Regions from separate parts of the Homo sapiens genome. Here all the other regions are linked to region 1. The links are contacts of gene promoters, found by promoter capture Hi-C in blood cells and fetal thymus (Javierre and others, 2016). All regions are on one chromosome and are shown on one strand. The core of a region is centred on a gene start or on the middle of the fragment in contact, and the rest is flanking DNA. Distances in the headings are between cores, read along the strand shown. Region 1 holds the start of ALDH3A1 (aldehyde dehydrogenase 3 family member A1). Region 2 has its middle 16 kb from the start of LINC02094. Region 3 overlaps LOC105371574 (a long non-coding RNA gene).

The links. Contacts are between HindIII fragments. The CHiCAGO score rates a contact against its expected background, and 5 or more counts as called.
Region 2: a contact is called between a fragment that was not itself captured here and the fragment with the promoter of ALDH3A1 in region 1, in 3 of 17 cell types (naive CD8 T cells, naive CD4 T cells and naive B cells). The highest score is 5.5, in naive CD8 T cells.
Region 3: a fragment that was not itself captured here is called in contact with the fragment with the promoter of ALDH3A1 in region 1 in 1 of 17 cell types (M2 macrophages); the score reaches 5.8 in M2 macrophages.

Annotation. Positions count from the first base shown.
Region 1 is chr17:19,746,971-19,749,685 of GRCh38, reverse strand. ALDH3A1 (aldehyde dehydrogenase 3 family member A1) reads left to right here and starts at 1,388. Exons shown (of 11, transcript NM_000691.5): 1 at 1,388-1,427. The HindIII fragment of the contact is 17,326 bases long and covers 1-2,715 here.
Region 2 is chr17:19,432,709-19,435,423 of GRCh38, reverse strand. No RefSeq gene overlaps it. Among named protein-coding and RNA genes, the nearest start is that of LINC02094, 16 kb to the right of the region's middle. RefSeq lists an enhancer at 1,689-2,227. The HindIII fragment of the contact is 178 bases long and covers 1,258-1,435 here.
Region 3 is chr17:19,454,232-19,456,946 of GRCh38, reverse strand. All of the region lies in intron 1 of LOC105371574 (a long non-coding RNA gene), which reads left to right. Among named protein-coding and RNA genes, the nearest start is that of LINC02094, 37 kb to the right of the region's middle. The HindIII fragment of the contact is 1,041 bases long and covers 789-1,829 here.

The DNA.
Region 1 (2,715 bases), core at 139-2,638:
GGCCTCCGTGAGCCCCCGCCCCAGGAGAGTCATTCACCTCCACACCTCCTGCTGGCAACAGTGGACACATCGCACTTTTTCGTGACATAACGTTCCCAGCCTCTGTGCCTTTGCTTCTGCTCTTCCAGCCCCCTTGCTGTTCCTTGCCCAAATGCTTCTCACTCAGCTCAGATGATGTTCCCTCCCACGGACTCTCACCCCAGCCCCTCTAGCATCCTCTGCCTACCTGGTTACTACAGTGTTCACATTATTTTGAAATTTCCTGTTTATTTTGTCAGTCAATAAATATTTATTGAGCATCTACTATAAATGCTGTATGGAGGTTACAGCAGTGAACAAATCAAATTCTAGCTGTCAGGAGTTAAGGGACAGGTAGCAAACAAGATATAAACGCTCCAGAGAAAAAATAATGGAGGAAGACGACAGCATTGTGCTATTTTCCACAGCACATTGGAGCGTAGCCGTGTGGGTGGATGTAGGGGAAGGGGGCTCCAGGTGGAGAGAAGCAGGAGGGCCAGAGCACATCCTCAGGACTCGTAGGCCAGGACCGGAACCTTGTGTTTTCCTCGAATGAAATGGGAAGCAGGGACCCCATGCTGGTAAGCAGTCTGCCTGCAGGCGGGTGAGGGTGGCGGGAAGCGCCTGGTGAGAGGGGCCGAGAGTCTGTTCCACACCTGCCTCCTCCCCACAGCGTGGTGCAGAGCAGGAGCCCAGCGAACATTGATCAGACAGCGTGGGAACGGCTTTTCCAGACTCCTTCCTTCCCAAGCATCTCTGGTTTTCGGTGACCACACAGACCCTTGGCCCTCTTCTCAGCTATTCAACGAGAGAGCAGATTTATGGATTGGAGACCCCCATCAAAAGTCCCCAGCCTGTGGCTCCCCAGGGTTAGGATCTCTGACTCAATGGGGCCCTGTGCACACTGGGGGATGTGAAGGGCCCGGGGCAGCGGTGGCTGGGGGTGCGTTTCGGGGGAGCTGCATGCTCTCACTGTGGTTCGTGGCTGAGCCCTGCCGATCTTATGTAACCAGAGAACTCAGAGAACCGCATCTGGCAGCGGCAAGTCTGGAAAGCTGGAAGAGCTCCATGCCAGGCTGAATCAATCAGCAGCCCCCACGCCCAGGGCAAACATAGGCTCTTTTGAAGATTGGAGATGTGCCCTGCCCAAGCCTTCAGAAACATTCTCGCATTTCAGAAGTGAACAAAAGCAAACAGCCCGGGACCTAATCCCCAAAACCTGGGCTGTAGGGAGCAGAGGTCCAGAGGACGCCACACCCCACATTTGAATATTTTTTTTTCTTGTCACGCAAACTTCCTGGGCAGGAACTCCAAGGGCTCAATGGACGGGAAGCAGGGTCCTTAAATACGTCCCCTCTTGGCTCTTGCCGTTCCAGGAGCCCCAGTTACCGGGAGAGGCTGTGTCAAAGGTAATCCTCTTCCCTGCATTCCTTATTTTTTCTCTTGTCTAGGTGGAGTCTGCACTCAGAGCCGGGGCCCTAAGTGTCAAGAGTCCTACATCATCTCTCCAGGGGGTCCCTGCCTCTGGGACCATCATCTCTGGAGCATCCTCCTGGACCTCTGGCAGCTCTGCCATCCCCCAAACCAGGAGGCAGAGGTCCCAGGGATCCGCGGAGCAGGGACACCAAGGTGGCCGTGGAGTGAGAGGCCCTGATGGGCCGTCAGACTCCATGACTGGAAGGAAGGCAGCAGAGCCGAGTGCTAAAGGCATGAGCTGCTGACAGAGATGCATGTGGGTTCAAACCCTGACATGCCACCTGCTAACTGTGAGATCAGATACAGCATTAAACGTTTCTCAGTCTCCCTTTCCTCATCTGTAAAATGCACTCATAACCGTTTCTTCTTCATGGGCATCACTACAGAGCTTTTGTGAGGATGGAAGGCAATGAGGAGGGGAGGAGGTGTCACTGGGGGGCAAAGTCAACACTGGCACAGGTGAGAGGAGCGGGGTGCAGGAATGTGGGGTGTGAGGCGACGGGCTCTGGGGAGGCCCCCAGTGCATGCTGCAGCAGCTCCCATTTGGGTGCAGCTGCGACGTGATGGTGTCCACTCATCTCTGTGAAGTGGCACCTTTGTTAACCTGTCTCTCGGGGAAGTCCTGGGAAGGCCGTCCAGCCCAGAGACCACAGTTCCAAGTGGCGATGCTGGGGTGCAAGGCCAATCCCGTCCCACGCTCACCAGGCTCTTCCCACCTGGGCTGCCTGCCTTGGTTTGACCGTACAAGGCTCGGGAGAGAAGCGGGACCTTCTCTCCTGGGTTGTGGTCAGCAGGAGGGGCCTGGCCCATGGGACTGAGGAGGTCCCAGTGAGGGGGCTTTCCCAGCCTCCTATCAGAACATAGGGAGGGACCATGGAAGGGCCAGGCTTAGAGCACCCTCAATGCCAGCAGGTCCCTCCTCCCTGTGCAGAAAGCCTGGGATTAGGGGTCAGCCTATGGGGAGGGGAGGCAGAGGAAGGATTGGAAGCCACTCGCTGGAATGTAGGCAGGACCATATATCTATATACAATATAATTATATATTACATATGATATATAGGGTTTTTTAAAAAAATGGAAATACCCTATTTCTGCTGATGTTAAAAGTTATGCCGGGTCTGCAAGTGGGCTGAGTATCTCAGGAAGGGGAGTAAGGAACTGGTAACAGTGGCCCCTCTGTGGGGCAGCACCTGACAGCTGATGGAGCAGGGAGGAGGGAGGC
Region 2 (2,715 bases), core at 97-2,596, 310 kb after region 1:
ACTCGGGAAGTGGAGGTTGCAGTGAGCCGAGATCGTGCCATTGCACTCCAGCCTGGGTAACAAGAGCAAAATTCTGTCTCAAAAATAACAAAAACAAAACAAAAAACCCAACTTGTTTAATCTTGGCCGGGCATGGCAGCTTACACCTATTGTATGCCCGGTACTTTGGGAGGCGGAGGTGGGTGGATCATCTGAGGTCAGGAGTTTGTGACCAGCCTGGCCAATATAGTGAAACCCCGTCTCTACCAAAAATACAAAAATTAGCTGGGCGTGGTGGCACATGCCTACAGTCCCAGCTACTCAGGAAGCTGAGGCAAGAGAATCGCTTGAACCCAGGAGGCGGAGGTGCAGTGAGCTGAGATTGTGCCACTGCACTCCAGCCTGGGCAACACAGTGAGACTCCATTTAAAAAATAAAAAATAAAACTTGTTTAATTCTAAACAGGTCCTGTTAAGAATTCCTTCATTATCCTGTCATGCTTCAAGGCCCAGAAAAGGCCTAAGCAAGACTCTTGGTGGGCTTCTGTTATATTCCAGCCTTTGTATAGGGGCCCTGGGTCTTTCAGCTTTTAATATTTAACCTAACCACTCAGTGCCGAAGCAGTTGGCATGGAGGCCTGCCTGTTCAGCTGTTAGTGAGACCTGGCCTGCCACAGTAGAATTTAATTCAAAAGTTGGTATTAGACGATAGACCAGTAGCATACTTCTCAGTTCTTCTGGGTACCTGGATGCCTTCGAGCTATGGCAGGAGCTGCTACACTTATTATAGGGGCTCAAGCCCTTACTTTGGGTCTTAATAAGAGAGATGAAAAAAACAAACTGCTTTTCCTACTCACACCACTCAACACAACACTTCACTTCTGACACCAGATGTCTGTGGGCTTGTCCTCACACACTAAGCAGTTCTACAGTGGATACCAAGTGGGAGTCCTCCCATTCAATTCAATTCTGACACTCTACCTGGGCATAGTGTCAGATCCCACAGGTTAAGGCTTAGTTCTATTTTCACAAGACTGGCCTATTTTCAGACACCAATTGCAAGTAGCAGGTTGTCACCTATGCATCTAACTGAGCAGCTATAAATTGGGGTTCCCACAACCCCGTTCTAATTTGTTAGGAAGTTCACAGAACTCAAGGAAACATTTACTTATGTTTACCAGCTTATTATATTAGTAAGGAATATTACAGAGGATGTAGATGAATAGCCAGGCAGAAGTGATCCATAGGGCAAGGTATGGAAGGTAAGGGGCAATAAGCTTCCATGTCCTGTCCTGCAGCACACCCCCATGGCATCCTGTAAGCATGCCACCCTACAGACAGCTCCATCTATTCAGCAATTCAGAAGCTCTCTGAACCCCATCTTTTTGGAATGTTCTGGAGGCTCATTATGTAGGCATGATTGATCAATCATTGGCCATTGGTAATCAACTCAAGCTTCAGGCCCTCTCTACTCTCCAGTGTTAGAAGGTGGGGCTGAAAGTGCCAAACCTCTAATTGTATGGTTGGTTTCCGTGTCAACCAGCCCCATCCTAAGGCTATCTGGGAACCCCCAGCCACTAATCATCTCACTAGCATACAAAAAGACACTTATCACTCCAGACATCCCAAGAGTTTAGGAGCTGGTATGCCAGGAACCAGGAACAAAAATCAAAATCACAATATCAAAGCATCTGAAGGAAATCAAATGATTTTACCATAAAATATATTTTCTCGACATAGCTCAAGGCAGATATTCAGAAGGGTTGGAAATACAAAAATAACTAAAAAGCTGCCTTTTGTGGGGGAGATTTGCATCTGTAGAGAAATCTGCACTGATGAAGCCAGGCTGTCTCTGAGGCCTTCCCTCATCCAGATCTGGGAAAGATTAAGCGAGAGTCTGACACCTTTAAAGTCTAACAGAAACATTCACCACCTATTCTCTCTCGAGGGCCGCTACCTGTGAGGCTTCATCTACATAACAAGACCCCCTTTGCTAGCCAGCCCTCCTCTTCTTCCCCTCCATAACCTCTGTTGCCGCCATAAACTGATCTAACACTGTAATCTGGTTTTGGCCCTGCTGTGAGCCCCCATTGTTAATGTAACCTCAAGATAGTACATAAGCTTCAGAACCCCACTGGGGAGTGGGGGTAATCACTGCGATTTTCCTTCTGTGGATATTAGTACATTTCTATGTCATTTCTCCTATTAATTTACCTATTGTGAGTTGATTTTTCAGCAGAATTTTCCCTTGCCCCCTAAGTTTTGGTGCTGTGAGCAGGATACTATTGACAGAAAGGTTACATAACAGGCACTATAACTTAAAGAAATTTAAAGTTAGTTTTATCCCGAGTGAAGTTTGAGGACTAATTCTCTGGGAAATACAGACTCAGAACAAACCAAAAATGTCTCCCCAAGTGGGCTACACGAGATAGTATTTATACATTCTGTTACATGGAAATGGAGAAGCAAAGGTGACATTCCTACAATTCTGATTGGTGCTCAGTGACGTTGTACATAAGATAAAGCAAATACGTGGTTAACATATATAGGGTGTGAAAATAAGTAATTCAAAATCTAAGCTTTTGGAACCTTAAAATATTTTGAGCCTTAAGGGAATGTGATTATGGGACCTGAGTCACATAAACTGGCAGCTGTAACCTAGGAAGCTGTAACTTTTGTTTCCCTGATTATACATTAGTCTTTTTTCTTACCTAAATTATTTTGTAAAATGTTGTAA
Region 3 (2,715 bases), core at 60-2,559, 290 kb after region 1:
GACCAATGGCATATAACCAGATCCCCACATACTCAACTTCCACAGTCAGCCCTGCCAAACCTCCTTGCAGGAAAAGTCAACACTCTGTAAATGTGGGCTTTGCATCCCATGAATACTGTATTTTTCATCCTCATTCGGTTGAAAAAGAGCTGCGTGTAAGTGGACTCATGCCGTTCAAACCTGTGTTGTTCGAGGGTCAACTGTGCAGCGCTATAATCACTGAGTAGCCACAGGGGAGGACAGATCTCCCTCCACAGACTGATTTTGTTTTCCTGAGAACAAGGACCCTCTCCTCCCTCCAGTCACATTGAAACTGGCTTTGCAAAAATTGTAACAGTGAGAAAATTATGGCAGAGGGGGAGATCTGATCTAGCCAACCCCACTCTTGCCTTTAGCCTTCAAGCTGCCTTTAATTATTCCTGGGCTTCGGCCAAGCTAACTTTGAGAGACATTTAGTTTATAGTTTAAATTTTAATAGCCCTTTCCCAAAACTCAATTGCCTTTGTAAAGCTAGTGAGTGACCACCAGGCTAGGAGGAAGAGAAGCCTGGATTCTGCCAAGGAGTACACATAAACAATCACTACCATTATTCCAGAGCTCACAAGACATGCAATTTCCCCACTTACTCCTGCAGATAACATCACTATTGTAGAATCTAAGATTGGCCTTTTGAGATATCTTTTCAGGATTTTTGCATGTCTGACACCAATGGCTCCACCTGGACCCACCAGGATCTGCCAACTGCTCCTGTGGCCCCACCCAGAAATGATTCAGTGCAAGAGGAAGCTTCAATCCCCTGATTTCATCTCTGAACCAACCAATCAGCACTTCCCATACCCTAGCCCCCTGCCCACCAAACTACTTTTGAAAAACCCCTACCCTATGAGCCTTCAAGGAGATTGATCTTCTGTTTGTTTGTTTGTTTTTGTTTTTTGAGACAGAGTCTCTCTCTGTCAGCCAGGCTGGAGTGCAGTGGCACCATCTCAGCTCACTGCAACCTCCACCTCCTGGGTTCAAGCAATTCTCATCCTTCAGCCTCCCGAGTAGCTGGGATTACAGGCACCCACCACCACACCCAGGTAATTTTTGTATTTTTAAAACAGAGGCGGGGTTTCACCATGTTGGACAGGCTGTTCTCGAACTCCTGACCTGCACTCAAGTGATCTGCCTGCCTTGGCCTCCCAAAGTGCTGGGATTACAGGTGTGAGCCACCATGTCCAGCCCAAGGAGATTGATTTGAGTAATAATTTTTGTCTCCCACATGGCGTGAGCAGCCTTACATCTGTTCAACTCTTTCTTTACTGCAATGCATTGGTCTCCTTTGTGCAGTGGCCAGGAAGAACCCATCAGGCAGCTACAGCATCACTGTGAGGAGAGAGGGAAGGTTCTCACTCCAGCAAAAATGGGAGTACTTGGGGGCCTCATCACACATGTTTATAAATGGTACCCTAAATGAGTGACTGAGGCAAGGCTCAATGATTTGAGGTTTAGTAAGCTAGAGCTTGAGGGCACATCTGAGGAAAAACTCAAGCCAGAGACGCACCTGTGGCTGTTTTTTTGTGGAGAAGTTTTCAGGAGCTTCTGTACATATAAATTTCCTTAAAGTGGGGGAATGCATGTAGGAAAAGGGGCAGGTAGGTGGCAAGGCAAATGTTACATTCTTGTGAGACTTTAGTTAGTGTCCAGTAAACCTACATTTTACATCAGATAAGGTGAATGTTTGAAGGAAGAGGGGAGTAAAGGAGGTCTCAATTATGCTGATGTCTCTTGGTAGGGGAAGGAATGGTTGATCTCATGCCGACTTTGTTCTGCCCCTCGGAAGATAAGCTTGTAATGGACATTGTCAGCGTGGAATGCAACAACAGACTTTAGTTTTAGGAGCTGGACTTGGATTGCACATCTCAAGTCCTTATTTATGGGAAGAAAGACATCTTGAAAGGTGTGTGAAAGGAAAATAAATATTGAGACTCCCAAACTCACTCAGCCAGAGGGAAAAGTCAAGCTGGGAACCAGCGCATGCAAACCTGCCTCCCATTTTGGGTCACAAATAAGATGGCTGCAAAGATGAAAAGCTACATACCTCCCTCACATTTTAGGGTAAAGATCCTTATGGGCCTCAAGATCTTTACTCTAAAATGTTTCTCTTGCAGTTCACCATGGCAATGTAAATTGATAGCTTATCTTCACAGGTGCTGGGACATACGACAGAGCTCAGATTCATGCTTCTGCCCATGTGAGACAAATGCATATCTTACTGTTTCCTCTGCCCTATGGTCTATGGCATCTCATGTAAAAATTCAGATTCACTGAGCCAGGCAAAGGCATGAATGACTGTTTTTCCCTACCCCGCTCTCACATGAAAGTTGTGTATTTCTCAATATTCCGCCCATTCCCCTTTAAATATTGAAGCCACCAAAATTATCTTCAGAGAAAGGCATAGACCTGTCTCTGGGAGTGCATCCTTAACTTTGGCAAATAGGCCTCCCAAAATGATTGAGACTTGCCTGGGTTATTTTCCTTGATTGACAGTAAGTCAAGTCAATTGACATAAGAGTTTACTTATGAGTGCTTTGTGGGGGTTGTCATCTGGAGATGCCTGAGGCCCTTCCATGGGGGTCTAGCTAATGCCTAATGCTTTGACACAAGGTTGTGAAGTAACAGCAATTCATTTGGAAGAGGGTGTTGCCAGTGACTCAGCCTCCAGGCTTAACTTTC